Regions from separate parts of the Homo sapiens genome. Here regions 2 and 3 are each linked to region 1. The links are contacts of gene promoters, found by promoter capture Hi-C in blood cells and fetal thymus (Javierre and others, 2016). All regions are on one chromosome and are shown on one strand. The core of a region is centred on a gene start or on the middle of the fragment in contact, and the rest is flanking DNA. Distances in the headings are between cores, read along the strand shown. Region 1 holds the start of GABARAPL2 (GABA type A receptor associated protein like 2). Region 2 has its middle 4.5 kb from the start of PSMD7. Region 3 has its middle 20 kb from the start of SYCE1L.

Evidence for each region. Contacts are between HindIII fragments. The CHiCAGO score rates a contact against its expected background, and 5 or more counts as called.
Region 2: a contact is called between a fragment that was not itself captured here and the fragment with the promoter of GABARAPL2 in region 1, in 2 of 17 cell types (neutrophils and naive CD4 T cells). The highest score is 7.8, in neutrophils.
Region 3: a fragment that was not itself captured here is called in contact with the fragment with the promoter of GABARAPL2 in region 1 in 2 of 17 cell types (M2 macrophages and fetal thymus); the score reaches 8.3 in M2 macrophages.

The regions. Positions count from the first base shown.
Region 1 is chr16:75,565,029-75,569,863 of GRCh38, reverse strand. GABARAPL2 (GABA type A receptor associated protein like 2) reads right to left here and starts at 3,485. Exons shown (of 4, transcript NM_007285.7): 1 at 3,344-3,485; 2 at 2,957-3,012; 3 at 1,655-1,827. The coding sequence starts at 3,377. RefSeq lists enhancers at 370-469, 2,270-3,023 and a silencer at 3,013-3,422. The HindIII fragment of the contact is 5,212 bases long and covers 2,080-4,835 here.
Region 2 is chr16:74,290,260-74,294,419 of GRCh38, reverse strand. No RefSeq gene overlaps it. Among named protein-coding and RNA genes, the nearest start is that of PSMD7, 4.5 kb to the left of the region's middle. The HindIII fragment of the contact is 5,681 bases long and covers 70-4,160 here.
Region 3 is chr16:77,216,969-77,221,496 of GRCh38, reverse strand. It overlaps the pseudogene VN2R10P. Among named protein-coding and RNA genes, the nearest start is that of SYCE1L, 20 kb to the right of the region's middle. RefSeq lists an enhancer at 912-1,021. The HindIII fragment of the contact is 3,666 bases long and covers 549-4,214 here.

The DNA.
Region 1 (4,835 bases), core at 2,236-4,735:
AGAAAATGGCTTGAAACAGTCTCTGCTGCCCTGAAAAATCATTTTTCATTTCCAATTCTATTTCTATCTCAGGGATAACGGGGGAGGGGAAGTTGATAAGACCTGTAGCCATTTTAATTGCTAGATTACTGTGGAGCCATCTGAGTAATCTTAAGGTCTCCAGAAGCCTGCTTCATTTCCTTTGAGAAGAACCAGAGAATCAGAATTGAGGAAAATAAACTCAATGCCATAGGTCCTAGTCACTTATTTTCTCCCACTAAGCCAACACCTCCAGGAAGTACAAAACACAGAGTCACCAAGGCTCTGTAGAAGTTGCAGATGTTATGAAAGAAGATTACCTCCCCAAACACGTTAAGGAAAGCCCAGGGTAACCACGGATGCCCAAGGCTTCCTCCCCTGGTGAAGACACAGCCCAGAGGCCTGGGAAGGAAGGTTAGAAGAGCCCCATGGGTGACAAGATCTCCTCAAGCAACACCACAGCTTCCAGAGCTACAGCTGTGGCAGACCAATGGCGTCCAGTGGGCAGGCCCTGGGGTGTCTCCTCAGGTTGAATACTGGCCTTAGGGAAGGAGCTTCCATTTCTCCCCTGCCTTTCTATCAGACACCAGGAAGTAGAGGTGGAGGACACTGGGAAAGAGGAAATCAGACCAAAAAATGGCCAGAGCTTTCCACCTTTAACAGAAATAAGGTCTGGAATTTGGCACAGGCCTCTTCTGGAGTCTTCAAGGATTTTCAACAGGAACCTATTTGGACAACATTGGGCTAGTTCCCAGGGCTTCTGAGAGCCTTCACTTTTAGAAGTATTACTTCTGGGAGTGGTAAATGAAACCTAGATTGGGTCACAAAGATAAGATGTGGCCAGAAACTCACACTCAGGGGAGAGGTGGGGGCTGGAATCTGGATCAGGGCCTACAACTACCCACTCAGTAACGGGAAAGGACTGACCAGGAGGTTAGACGGAGCCCATCCACTTTCCTTTTTCCACAGGGGACTAAAGCTGGGCTGTCAAACACACAGAAAACGGGAATTCTAATGCCTCTGCCTACATTCAGGCCACAAGTTACAGTCCCAAAGATTGCTTCCAGGCAGCACAATAGTCTGACAGTCAAAGCAAGTGCTACCAAGGGAGGTATAAGTCTGTAAAGAGACTTCAGAGCCCTTTACTGTGCCGCAGTCATTTTGTCAGACTTGAGGATCAGGCAGCTATAGACTCTTACAATGTCAAAGAGTTGACCAAGTTTGGGAGCAAGCAAACTGGATGATTAACTGAGTGAGCCTCAGCAGGGCCCACAGGCTCCCAGTGGAGGAGCATGCCAGGACTGCCTTCAGGGAAGAAAACCTCATTTCAGGCCTCAGTTCTACCTATAGCTTAAGACTAAATAAGTTCTCAACCGTTTTAAAAGATTCTTGGAGATCTTAGGCTGAGTTTCATCATTTTTTTAAAAGTCCAGGCCTTGTTCTATTTTCTGAATCCAAAATGCACTCTTATGTATTGCAGCCATTATTTTCCTGGAGCCCCTGATGTCAGGGAGCATAAAATCCAGATTTCTAGTCAGGACCCCTAAGAGTTTTCAGACTTCCAAAGTTTTGGAGTTCCGTAAGCAGCCAACCAGATGTCTAATACCAGAGGGCCCATCTAGTAAACACCTCTCACCTGGACTGTGGGACTGTCTTATCCACAAACAGGAAGATCGCCTTTTCAGAAGGAAGCTGGATCCTTTTCCTGATGATCCACATGAACTGAGCCACAGTGATATCAGATGGAACCAAGTACTTCCGTTTGTCAATGTCAACAATCTGAGAGCCTGAGACCTTTTCCACAATCACCTGGGAAAGTAAAGAGAGGTCAGGACTGTGTTTCCTAAAGCGAGGCTCTGGCCTCACATGGCTGAGGAGCTGATGAACAGAGTGTGGGCAAGGAGGTGGGTGGGGAACTGCATAGCAGGAGAAAATATGTCTTTGGCTTAATAAACCACACGCTCTGGAGGTTAAGAATTGATATAAATGTGTTACAGGGAAACAGTAAGTGCTTTTCTGTGGTCAATTATGTAAGAGAAATGCAGCCCTTACCACTAAGCTTTTCCACATTTTATCTGGGCAGACCTAAGAATATCTGGGGAGGGTTTCATCCATGGCCCGTTACTCCAGGACCCCAGAATGGATCCACCTTCACACTACAGGAAACACTACTGTGTTCCCAAGGAACACAGGAGACAAGAATGGATGGACTAATTGGAATGCCTGGAATTTTAGCCAGCCAAGAACCAAGTTCTTCATTTGGCCTGTTGCTCCTCTCTGAACAAGTTTCAAATCCGTCCCTCCTACTCCTTTCCCCAGACAAATTATTCACAAGCAAAGAGCTACAATAACAGGCCTTAATGTCCATTAAAAATTAATAACGATTACAAAACTATCTCCCCAACCATGGAAGAAATATAACATTATATTTATTATTGACTAAGAAGAAAATATGGCAGAAGGGGTTTTCAGCGGCTTTTCACATTATTTTGGTCAGGCAAGGATGACAGGGTCAAGGTGAGATAACGGAGCTAGAAGTTAGGTAAAGATGGAGACAAAGTAAAAGATGAACGTCCTGAGACTCAAGTACCACTTCCAAGACCAAAATGACAGTCTCCCTCCACCACCATTCCCAAAAGTGGCAGTGACCTGTTGCCCTGTCCTAGAACATCGTTCCTTACATAATTGGCCAGGGAGCCCCGAGGCTGCAGACGGCTCGCTGGCCTAGATCGGGAGATTCAGCACTGAGGCACCCTGAACAGCACCAGCCCGAGCCCCTCACGCCCCGGCCCTGGGCGGCCTCATCCCGGTCTGGCCCGTCAGCTACTGTAACTGGGACTGGAACCTCAACTTGTCAACTGTTGAATGGCCTGGGGCCTATCACGGGTCCCAGACGACAGAGGTGACAGCGAGGTGAGGGGGCGGAGAGTCCACTCACCGGAACCCTGTCGGGATATTTCGCTCGAATCTTCGCGGACTCCACGCATCTGTGTTCTGTGGGAGAAACAAACGGGGCTGACGGCCGCGCCTGCCCACCGGTCGGTTCCCGGCCCCCGGCCCTCCTCCTCCTGCGCCCTGCGTACAACCCAGGCCCTGGTTCCGGCGTCCCCGGGGCCGCGGTCCTGTCCCCTACTAGCTCCCAGCAAGGCCCGCGGAGGGTGACATGGGGTCAGGGGGCCGCTGCCCGAGGCACCAGGGCATGGGCGACTCCAGCCCGCAGCAGGGCATCCGCCCCGCTCCACTCGGCCCAGGGCCGCCCGAGTGGGGGAGGGGGCCCACCCGCCGCCCCAGCCCCCAGCAGCCGGGCCGACGACCAAGTGCTTACCCAGCGAGTGGTCCTCCTTGAACATCCACTTCATGGCGGCGGCGGGAAGGGGACGGAACCGGCTCGCGGAGCCGCGGAGCTCAGCGCACCGAGCACAACAACAACGACGGCGGCAGCGGCAGCGGCAGCGACGGCGGCGACTACACGGCAGGCGGGACTTCCGGCTGTCGGAGCCTAGCAACCGGCCGGGGGCGGGGCTTCCGGCGCCATTTGTCAGGGCGCCACGCCAAGGGGCGGGGCCGCACGTAAAGGGGCGGGGCCGCGGAGGACCCCTTTGGGGGCTCCTGGGCTGCGGTGGCGAAGAAGTTGGTTATGGGGACGTCTGTGAGCAGTATCTGCGACATTGCTCGCAGGAATGTTCGGGGAACTGGTGACAGGAGTGGGGTCTCGGGAGCGTTGGTGGCGGAAAACGTCTGGCTGATAGTGTAGGGCTCTTACTGAGGGCTGTTTGGGGGTGTGGCTGATAGCTGAGGGCTCTTAGAGCGGTTCATAGGGGAAGTCTGGGGAATTGGTGACAAGAACGGTCTTTAGGGGTAAGAATGACATAAGGAGGGCTTTCTAGAGCTTGGCGATAACAAGGGAGCTGTTTAGGGCGTTGACAGTTTGGGGAGTATTGCTCGGAGTGGTGACAGGTTGGGGGCTCATTATGGGAGGGGAGGGTGTTTGAGGACACTGTTGGAAGCGGCACTGAGGACAACCCGGAGGTCCGTATTAGGGACAGCCGTAGTAGGTTGTCTTGGACCTAGAAATTGAATTTAAACAAATCCCGTTTTCTTCCTTTATTCGTGAATAAATATTTGAATAAACATTTACGAAAAGGTATCACAAATGCACATTTGAGGCGGGGTACGGTGGCTCACGCCTGTAATCCCAACACTTTGGGAGGCCGACGCGGGTGGATCACCTGAGGTCAGGAGTTGAAGACCAGCCTGGCCAACATGGTGAAACCCCGTCTCTACTAAAAATACAAAAATTAGCCAGGCATGGTAGTGGGCGCCTGTAGTCCCAGCTCCTCGGGAGGCTGAGGCAGGAGAATCGTTTGAACCAGGGAGGTGGAGGTGGCAGTGAGCCGAGATCACACCACTGCACTCCAGCCTGGGCAACAGAGCAAGACTCCGCCTCAAAAAAAAATGCACATTTGAGGAGTGTAACATCACTGATCACAGACCCCTTAATTTTAACTGGCAGAGGAGTTAGAGGTGACTGTCAGACTCGGAGAATTCCCCTGAGAGCTGGTCATGAGATGGGTTTCCTTATTTGGCTGTGGGAGTGGTTTAGCAATCACAGCCTGAGCTGTGTGTGTGTCACCTGCCCGGACATATGCTTTGAGGTTCTCCAATCAGTGATGTAATGCCTTTTTTCCAAGCAGACTCATCAAGGCAGTCTGGTCTGGGTCACCATCTGTTTATAAGCTGCTGAACATGTAGCAGGAATATTCACTTAATTGGGCACATGAACCCTGCCACGTGCTTGTGATTCTGATGCACCTGTA
Region 2 (4,160 bases), core at 1,661-4,160, 1.3 Mb after region 1:
TGATATATTTTATTTCACACTGAGTTCACTTTGCAGTTGTACTAAGCCTAAGCAAGCTGTTTCGAAGCTTATTGGGTGTCTCCAATCCTGACTCACTGAAGCAGTGTGAAACTGACTATGAGCTTAAAAAATTATTCTAGTTACACATGATCATTGTGGAAAAATGACACTATTCAGATAAATAAAAATGAATATAGAGCTGGGCATGGTGGCCTGTGCCTGTAATCCCAGATACTTGGAAGGCTGAGGTTGGAGGATCACTTGAGCCCAGGAGTTCATGACCCTTCCGAACAGTAGGACCTTGTCACAAATAATTAATTAATTGAAATAAATTAAAATCACCTGAAATCGTACCACATACAGAAAACTAAGATTAACCCTGGCCCAAAGTGCTTTTTTTTTGAGACGGAGTCCTACTCTGTCACCGGGCTGGAGTGCAGTGGCACAATCTCGGCTCCCTGTAACCTCCGTCTCCCAGGTTCAAGTGATTCTCCTGCCTCAGCCTCCCAAGCAGCTGGGACTATAGGCGCATGCCACCATGCCCAGCTAATTTGTTTGTATTTTTAGTAGAGACAGGGTTTCACCATGTTGGCCAGGAAGGATGGTCTCGATTTTGTGATCTGCCTGCCTCAGCCTCCCAAAGTGCTAGGATTATAGGCGTGAACCACCGCGCCTGGCCTAAAGTGCTGTATTTCTTAAGGGATTTCAGCATTAGCTTCCTAATTTCTCTTTTTGCCTTCCAGTTTTGACCTTCTCCCATCTCCATCCTCCACTCTGCAGCCAGACTTATTTTATTGATTGATTGATTGATTGAGACTGAGTTTCACTCTTGTTGCCCAGATCTCAGCTTGCTGCAACCAACACCTCCTGGGTTCAAGCGATTCTCCCACCTCAGCCTCCCTAGTAGCTGGGATTAGAGGTGCCCGCCACCACGCCTGGCTAATTTTTGTATTTTTAGTAGAGACGGGGTTTCATCCTGTTGGCCAGGCTGGTGCTGGGATTACAGGCATGAGCCACTGTGCCCAGCCTTATTTTAACATTTTTAATTTGTTATTTTTTTAAAAGAGTTAGGGTCTCACTCTGTCACCAAGGTTGGAGTGCAGTGGTGCAATCATTAGCTCACTGAAGCCTTGAACTTCTGGGCTCAAATGATCCTCCTGCTTTGGCCTCCCACAGTGTTAGGATTATAGGCGTGAGCCATGGTGCCCAGCCCCAGACATATTTTTAAAACACCCTTTTTAATGGAAAATCCCTACCCTGTGCAAGAGTAGGGAAAATAGTATAATAAAGCCCATGAACCTGTTACTGAGCTTCAAGTCTCCCTCACTTTTCTTAGGTGAACCCTAGTTCCTCTCCTTAAAGGTAGTCACTGGCTACTAGTTTCTGGCGAATCTTTCGGAAAGTTTTTTAAAGATGTATCTTTTGGCATCTGTATGCATAGCTTTCAAAATATGCAAATGGGCTCGGCGCTGCGGCTCACGCCTGTAATCCCAGCACTTTGGGAGGCCGAGGCGGGCTGATCACAAGGTCAGGAGTTGGAGACCAGCTTGGCCAACATGAGGAAACCCCATCTCTACTAAAAATACAAAAAAAAATTAGCCATGCATGATGGTCGGTGCCTGTAATCCCAGCTGCTTGGGAGGCTGAGGTAGGAGAATCACTTGAACCTGGGAGGCGGAGGTTGCAGTGAGCTAAGATCCTGCCACTGCACTCTAGCCTGGGTGACAGAGTGAGACTTCATCTCAAAAAAAAAAAAAATGCAAATGGAGTTTAACTCTACATAAAGTTCTGAAATTTGCTCTTTTGAGTTAATAATTTATCATTAACACACTTCCTTATAGCAAATCTAGGTCTACATCATCATTAATAGCTGCATAGAATGGATTTGATTTCTTCATAATAGATGCCTTCATCTACTCAGAGGCCCAGCTACAACATCATTCTCCATCAGCCTCTGTAGGCCTGGAAAGGGCAAAAGCTGTGCCAACGGTGTTTCTAGAATCTTTAATTTTTCCACTTAGATAATGACTCTTTTGCACTGTAAACTTTGGCAGTCTTCTATAACCAGTATCTCTGATGTTTTTCTCAATACTCACTTAACAATTTAACTCTGTGCCACTCTTCTAAATACTGGTTATATAGGAATAAACAAAACAAAGCTCTTGCCCTCTTTGAACTTATAGTCTTGTTAGAGGAGATAGACTATAAGCAAATAATAAATGTAAATCCTGTATAATATCCCATATGGTGTCAGAAAGTGTGCTCAGTCTGTCAGACATGCTCACCATGATCAAATGTGCCAGGCCCCAATGAATCATGCATCTGGCCTTCATGCCCTGGTTATCTCCTCCAAAATTGACTGTGAGCTTGGGCATGTGACTTGCTCTGGCACATGAGATATTAGCAAGTGTAATACAAACAGAGGCTTGAGTAACACTCTCATGTTGCAGCTTGTTCTCTTGGAATGCCCACTCTTGGAACCCTGAGTCATGTAGAAAAATCTGGCTACTTTGCAGGAGAGACCATATGGAATAGAAGAGGAATGCTTGGCCATTCCCCAGCTATTCCAGCCATTACAGGCAGGGTCCCAAGAAATGAGAGTGAAAAAACCACTGTGGATATTCCAGCCCTAGTAGATAGCATGTGGAGCAGAAGAACTGCCCAGCTGAGCCCAGCCCAGGTTATAAAATTCTGTGAAATAATAAGTCATCGTTGCTGTTTTAAGTCACTAAGTTTTGGGTGGTTTGTTGTGCAGCAACAGATAACAGAAACACTAGGCAATTTGTGAATTCTTTGTGAACCTAAGGTTCTTGGTAAATCCATTATCTGCCACTCAATGCTTGGTTATATAGCTGCTCCCTAAATGTGAGCTCCGTCACTTACTTTCTCTGTTATTTGCTGCATTTACTCTTTCATTTGAGGGTTATTTAGGCCTGTCATGGAATATCGCTCAGCTCAAGTGATATGATCAGAATCTGAAGAGGTTCCTCAAGCTAGGTAGCATTTTGGAAACATTCCAGCAGGACTGAGTTTGAGAGTGTGGAGAAACTGGAACATGGTAGAGAATAAATTCTTGATGCCTCTGGCACCCTTCCCTGTAATCTTTCTCCCTGTCGTCTCCGACTGTGAAGGTAATAGAAAAGAGCGTGGGCTGTGAGTCAGATCTAGATTTGAATTTTGCTTTTCCTATTCACTGGCTAGGATATTTTAAATGGGTCACTTAATCTCTCTACACCTCAATTTCCTCTATGTAAAAGAGGGATAATAATAGTGCCTGACTCGGGTGAGGGGAGCCAGGGATGGGAGACTACTGGGCTGTCCTGAGCAGAGACATATTTAAGAGAGTAGTGAGAAGTTTATGTTGGTTGGGTAGGACCAGTTTATAAAGGGCACAGGATTTTTATTGTAAGTCAGAAAGTGATATGAAAGAAGTGACATTTTTAGAAGATTAATCTAGTAGTAGTATGCAAAGTAGATTCACAGAAAGAGAGCTAGTGCTGGATGTGGTGGTGGCACCTGTAGTCCCAGCTACTTGGGAGGTTGAGGTGGAGTTCAAGACCAGCCTGAGCAACATAGTGAGACCTTGTCTCTGAAAAAAGAAATAATTTTTTTTTTTAAGAGAACAAGGAATCAGGAAAGCTCTGTTAGGAGGAATTTTAAATAATTTAGTATGAGGTGACAAATACCTGGGGTGGCAGAGGGAACAGAAAAAGAAACAGGGAGATGCATTTCAGAGAAAAATGGACAGAAAATGGTGATTGATTGCCTGTGAAAGATGAAGGAATGGATAATAAAAAATTACTTCAAAGTTCCCTGGCTGGGTGGCATGGCTCAAGGCCAAGGTAAGAGGATTGCTTAAGGCCAGGAGTTTGAAACCAGCCTGGGCAACATTTCAAGACCTTGTCTCTCCAAAAAAAAAAAAAAAAAAAAAATTAGCCAAGCATGGTGGCATGCACCTATAGACCTATAGTCCCAGCTACTACTTGGGAGGCTGAGGTGAGAGGATTGCTTGAGCCTAGGAGTATGAGGTTACAGTGAGCTATGATTGTGCCACTGCACTCCAGCCTGGGGGAGAGAGTGAGACTGTCTCTTAAATAAATGAAAATGAAAACTCCTGCTGTTTCATAATTTTCTTTTTTAATTTTTGAAAATATACTTAC
Region 3 (4,528 bases), core at 1,132-3,631, 1.7 Mb before region 1:
GAAACAGGATAACTGAGAGTGGTATTGCTCTTAATTCCTTTAAAGACATGAGACTGACTTTATCTTCGGAGGTAGTGAGTTTGATTCAATTATTAACTTGCATCTGATTGTGATAATAGTGAATTTTTAAATTCAGGATGTCGCCTCTTTTTTTTTCCCCCTTTTTTGAAATAAAACTCTGGAATTCTTACTGCTTCCAGAACCTATTTTAATCTTCAGACCTTGGAAGGTATTCATATCTCATAAGAGTAACGTAATATATGGGGGCAAAGATGCAGCCAAGTAGCTCAGCACTGAAAGCTAAGATGAAGAAGAACCCCATGGCTTCCAGGACCTTCCCCTTGATGCTGTGGTCGGCAAGGAGGGAGGTGACTGCAGAACACCAGCATGCTGAACATCAAGAACTTGACTTATTGAAGGTGTCAGGCAAACCCATGGCCAGGAAAGCCAAGGTAAAGCTCCCCAGGGTCAAGGAGCCCAGGTATCCTAGGACATGGTAGAAGACAGTGCTGAAACCTCACTGCGTGTGAGAACTACAGATCCAAGCTTAGAGAGTGTGTCTGTGTCAATGAAGGGAGGAAAGTTTCTCAGCCCGAGCTGACAGATCAGGAGACAGATTCCACTTGGATTAGGGAGAATATAAAAAGGGCAAAATTAGGAGATCCTGATACCAATCACCATCTTATTCTCCCTGGCATTCTGGCCTTCAGAGCCAGAACTACAGTGATGGTTTTGGTCAGAATGATAGAAATAGCCATAGTAAACACAACTCCAAATGCTATTTGTTGGAGTCACCACGTAGCTGTGTGGGGGTGGCCAATGCATAGGGCAGAGCAGAGGAAGCACAGTGTGACGGAGGCCAGACTTTCAGCAGGGTGCAGCTGAAAGCCCATGTACTGGCTTTAACCGAGGGGATTTCCTGCTGCTTCACAAATACCCCAAGGACCACTGCAGTAAGGACAGAGAGGCAGGGCTGTGCAGGCCAGAGACATCCCCAAAGGGCCTTCAAAAGCCAAGAAGTTCACATCCTTTGGAAGACAGTAAATTCTCTGACTATTCTGATATTGATCATCTGGACACTTCTTATACTGAATAGTATCTGAAAAACAAAGCAATGGTTTTTTGTTCAAGATTCATAAATCCTTACTGATTCCCAGAAACAAAAAAGTCATTTTTGGCCTTGTAGGGCACCTTGTCCATCTCAGTGCTATACTCAAATGTCATGCTTTTTAGCATGTTACAGAAGCAATAATTTCAAACTAACATGCCAATTCTCTCCTTGGTTTTATTTCCCAAAATAACATTTTCTCTCATTGTTCATTTCTCCACATGCCAACGAATTATTTTCCATTTTCTTTCATAATGAAAGCATTATACTCCCTTAAAAATTTAAATATCCATTCTCTAGGCCAAGAGTCCACAAACTATAGCCTACAGGTCAAATCTAGCCATTAGTAATTTTATAGGGCTTATAATCTATGAATGTTTTAATACTTTTAGATGGTTGCATTTTAAATGGTTATACAAGTATTTACATACTTTCAATTTCACCTCTTGGCTTGCAAAGTCTAAAATATTTACTATTTGGCCCGCTAAGAAAAACATTTCCTGACCTCTGCCTTCTCCTGGATTATTTACACAAATGACAATTATTTTCTAAGAATTTACACTGAACCAGATGCCTTATTAAGAATGGGGACCTGTTCAACTTTTAACAGGTATCAAAGAGGCCCTCAGGTTCTAATAGCTAAATATTTCTTAGTGTATCCCTTCCACATTTCGAGGTAGAATTCCATCAGCTTGATGTGGCAGGAAAGGTCTTAATCATCTTGTTTGTACATAGGTTTCTGGCCTTATCTTTTGTCATAAACTAAACACTGGATCAAAAGATTCTGATGTAGAGATTTATGTATCATACTCACAGTGCTCATGCCTTCTCGCTTTGCCATGACCTTCTTCAACAGGGAGTTTCTTTTGCTCTCTTCTTTGCTTGACTAATTCCTACTTGCCTTTAACAACGTAGTCAACATTACCTGCATTAGGATGTGCCTGCATGCCTCCCCACACTCTAGTATGTACCTGTGTCTTTGAACCCTTTGTCCTGGGTTGCCTTCCTCATTAGGCTATGAATTATCAATGACAGTATAGTTTTATTAAACAAACCCTGAAAAATTAGATACCTAAATAGACAGTCAAGTAAAGAAACATACGAAGAAAAATATTCCTAAAAATACATTTATTGTCCGGGCGTGGTGGCTCACGCCTGTAATTCCAGCACTTTGGGAGGCTGAGGTGGGTGGATCACCTGAGGTCAGGAGTTCAAGACCAGCCTGGCCAACATGGTGAAACCCCATCTCTACTAAAAATACAAAAAATTAGCTGGGCATGGTGGCAGGTGCCTGTAATCCCAGCAATTCGGGAGGCTGAGGCAGGAGAATTGCTTGAACCCAGGAGGCAGAGGTTGCAGTGAGCCGAGATAGTGCCACTGCACTCCAACCTGGGCAACAGAGTGAGACTCAGTCTCAAAAAAAAAAAATTACTGTAGCAACATTATTATCAGGTAAAATAGAATTCAAAGAGATATACAGAGGAGAAGAACACATAAAATAAAAATTAGGCCAGGTGCGGTGACTAACGCCTGTAATCCCCGCACTTTGGGAGGCCAAGGCAGGCGGATCACCTGAGGTCGGGAGTTGGAGAACAGCCCGACTAACATGGAGAAACCCTATCTCTTCTAAAAATACAAAATTAGCTGGGCATGGTGATGCATGCCTGTAATCCCAGCTACCCAGGAGGCTGAGGCAGGAGAATTGCTTGAACCCGGGAGGCGGAGGTTGTGGTCAACTGAGATCACACCATTGCGCTCCAGCCTAGGCAACAAGAGTGAAACGCTATCTCAAAAAAAAAAAAAAAAAAAACTAAACAGATAAAACAGACTCTTTTCTCCTTTAGAAGGCTCAATATAATGATACTAATTTCCTGCATGTTAATGTATATATTTCATTCAATACAAATATCAAATAATAATAGGGGTTTTTTGTTGTTGTTGCTGCTGTTTAATTTTTTTTGAAACAGAGTCTCACACTGCCACAAGGCTAGAGTGCAGTGGCGTGATCTCTGCTCACTGCAACCTCCGCCTCCTGGGTTCAAGTGATTCTCCTGCCTCAGCCTCCCTAGTAGCTGGGACTACAGGCTTGTGCCACCACATCCAGCTAATTTTTTGTATTTTTAGTAGAGACAGGGTTTCACCATGTTAGTCAGGATGGTCTTGATTTCCTGACCTCATAGTCTGCCTGCCTCTGCCCACCAAAGTGCTGGGATTACAGCTGTGAGCCACTGCGCCCAGTCAGGTTTTTTGTTTTTTTGTTTTTTTTTTTTTTTTGGAAATAGACAATATGATTCTAGAGTATGCATAGGAAAGAAACTACCCTTGAAAAATTCTGAAACAGTAGGAAAATATAGAGGAGGTCTCACCAAGTGAGTTTCATAATATTATTTAAGGGTATAATAATAAAAAGTTTGGTATTTGTGTATAAATAGGTAACTAGATAAAGGAATAGAATAAACAGTTCAGAAATTGACCAAAATAGACATGATTATTTGGTATATGGCGAGGATGGCATTGCAGTTGGGGGGATACATGTGCTATTCAGTAAATTCTCTCCAGATTATGTACAGACACAAAATAAATTCCAAATAGTTCAAATATAAACTAAATTATAAAAGCATTAGGGCCCGGGAGCAGTGGCTCACACCTATAATCCCAGCACTTTTGGAGGCTGAGGTGGGTGGATCACCTGAGGTCAGGAGTTTGAGACCAGCCTGGCCAACATGGTGAAACCCCGTCTCTATTAAAAATACAAAAATTAGCTGGATGGGATGGTGGGTGCCTGTAATCCCAGCTCCTCGGGACGCTGCTACAGAATTGCTTGAACCCAGGAGGCAGGGCTTGCGGTGCGCCGAGACTGCACCACTGTACTCCAGCCTAGGCAACAGAGCGAGACTCCATCTTACTAAATAAATAAATAAATAAATAAATGTATTAGAAACGGTGACTTAACATATGGTGGGCAGGAGGGTGGGCAAGTGGTCTCTTCAGGGCAGGGTCCTCGCTAGTGCTGTGGGCACCAGAAGGGGAAGAACAGCCATGTGCTCTCCTCTGGGTAGTAGGATACTGAAATTGGGATATTTTGGGGTGTATGTTTTTTGAAGCTTTGACTGTGATTTTTAAACAATAAAATGTTCTAAAAATATAAAGGTAACCACTGAGAAAGATATTTAATCTCAGAGTGGAAGAGAAATTTATAGGTAATGGGCATTTTAGATAATGTAGGTTTAATAAGACTTTAGAAATAAGAAGACACACGGAAAGTAAAACAGGCTTTCCAAAAATGAGGCACAAAATATAAAGACAATGACTCCAGAAAAGAAGGTCATTAAATGCCTACTGGCTTTCATAAGATACAATTGGAAGGAATCTTTATAACTCTTAAATAGGTCTGATCACAGAAGTAAAACATGACTGCAC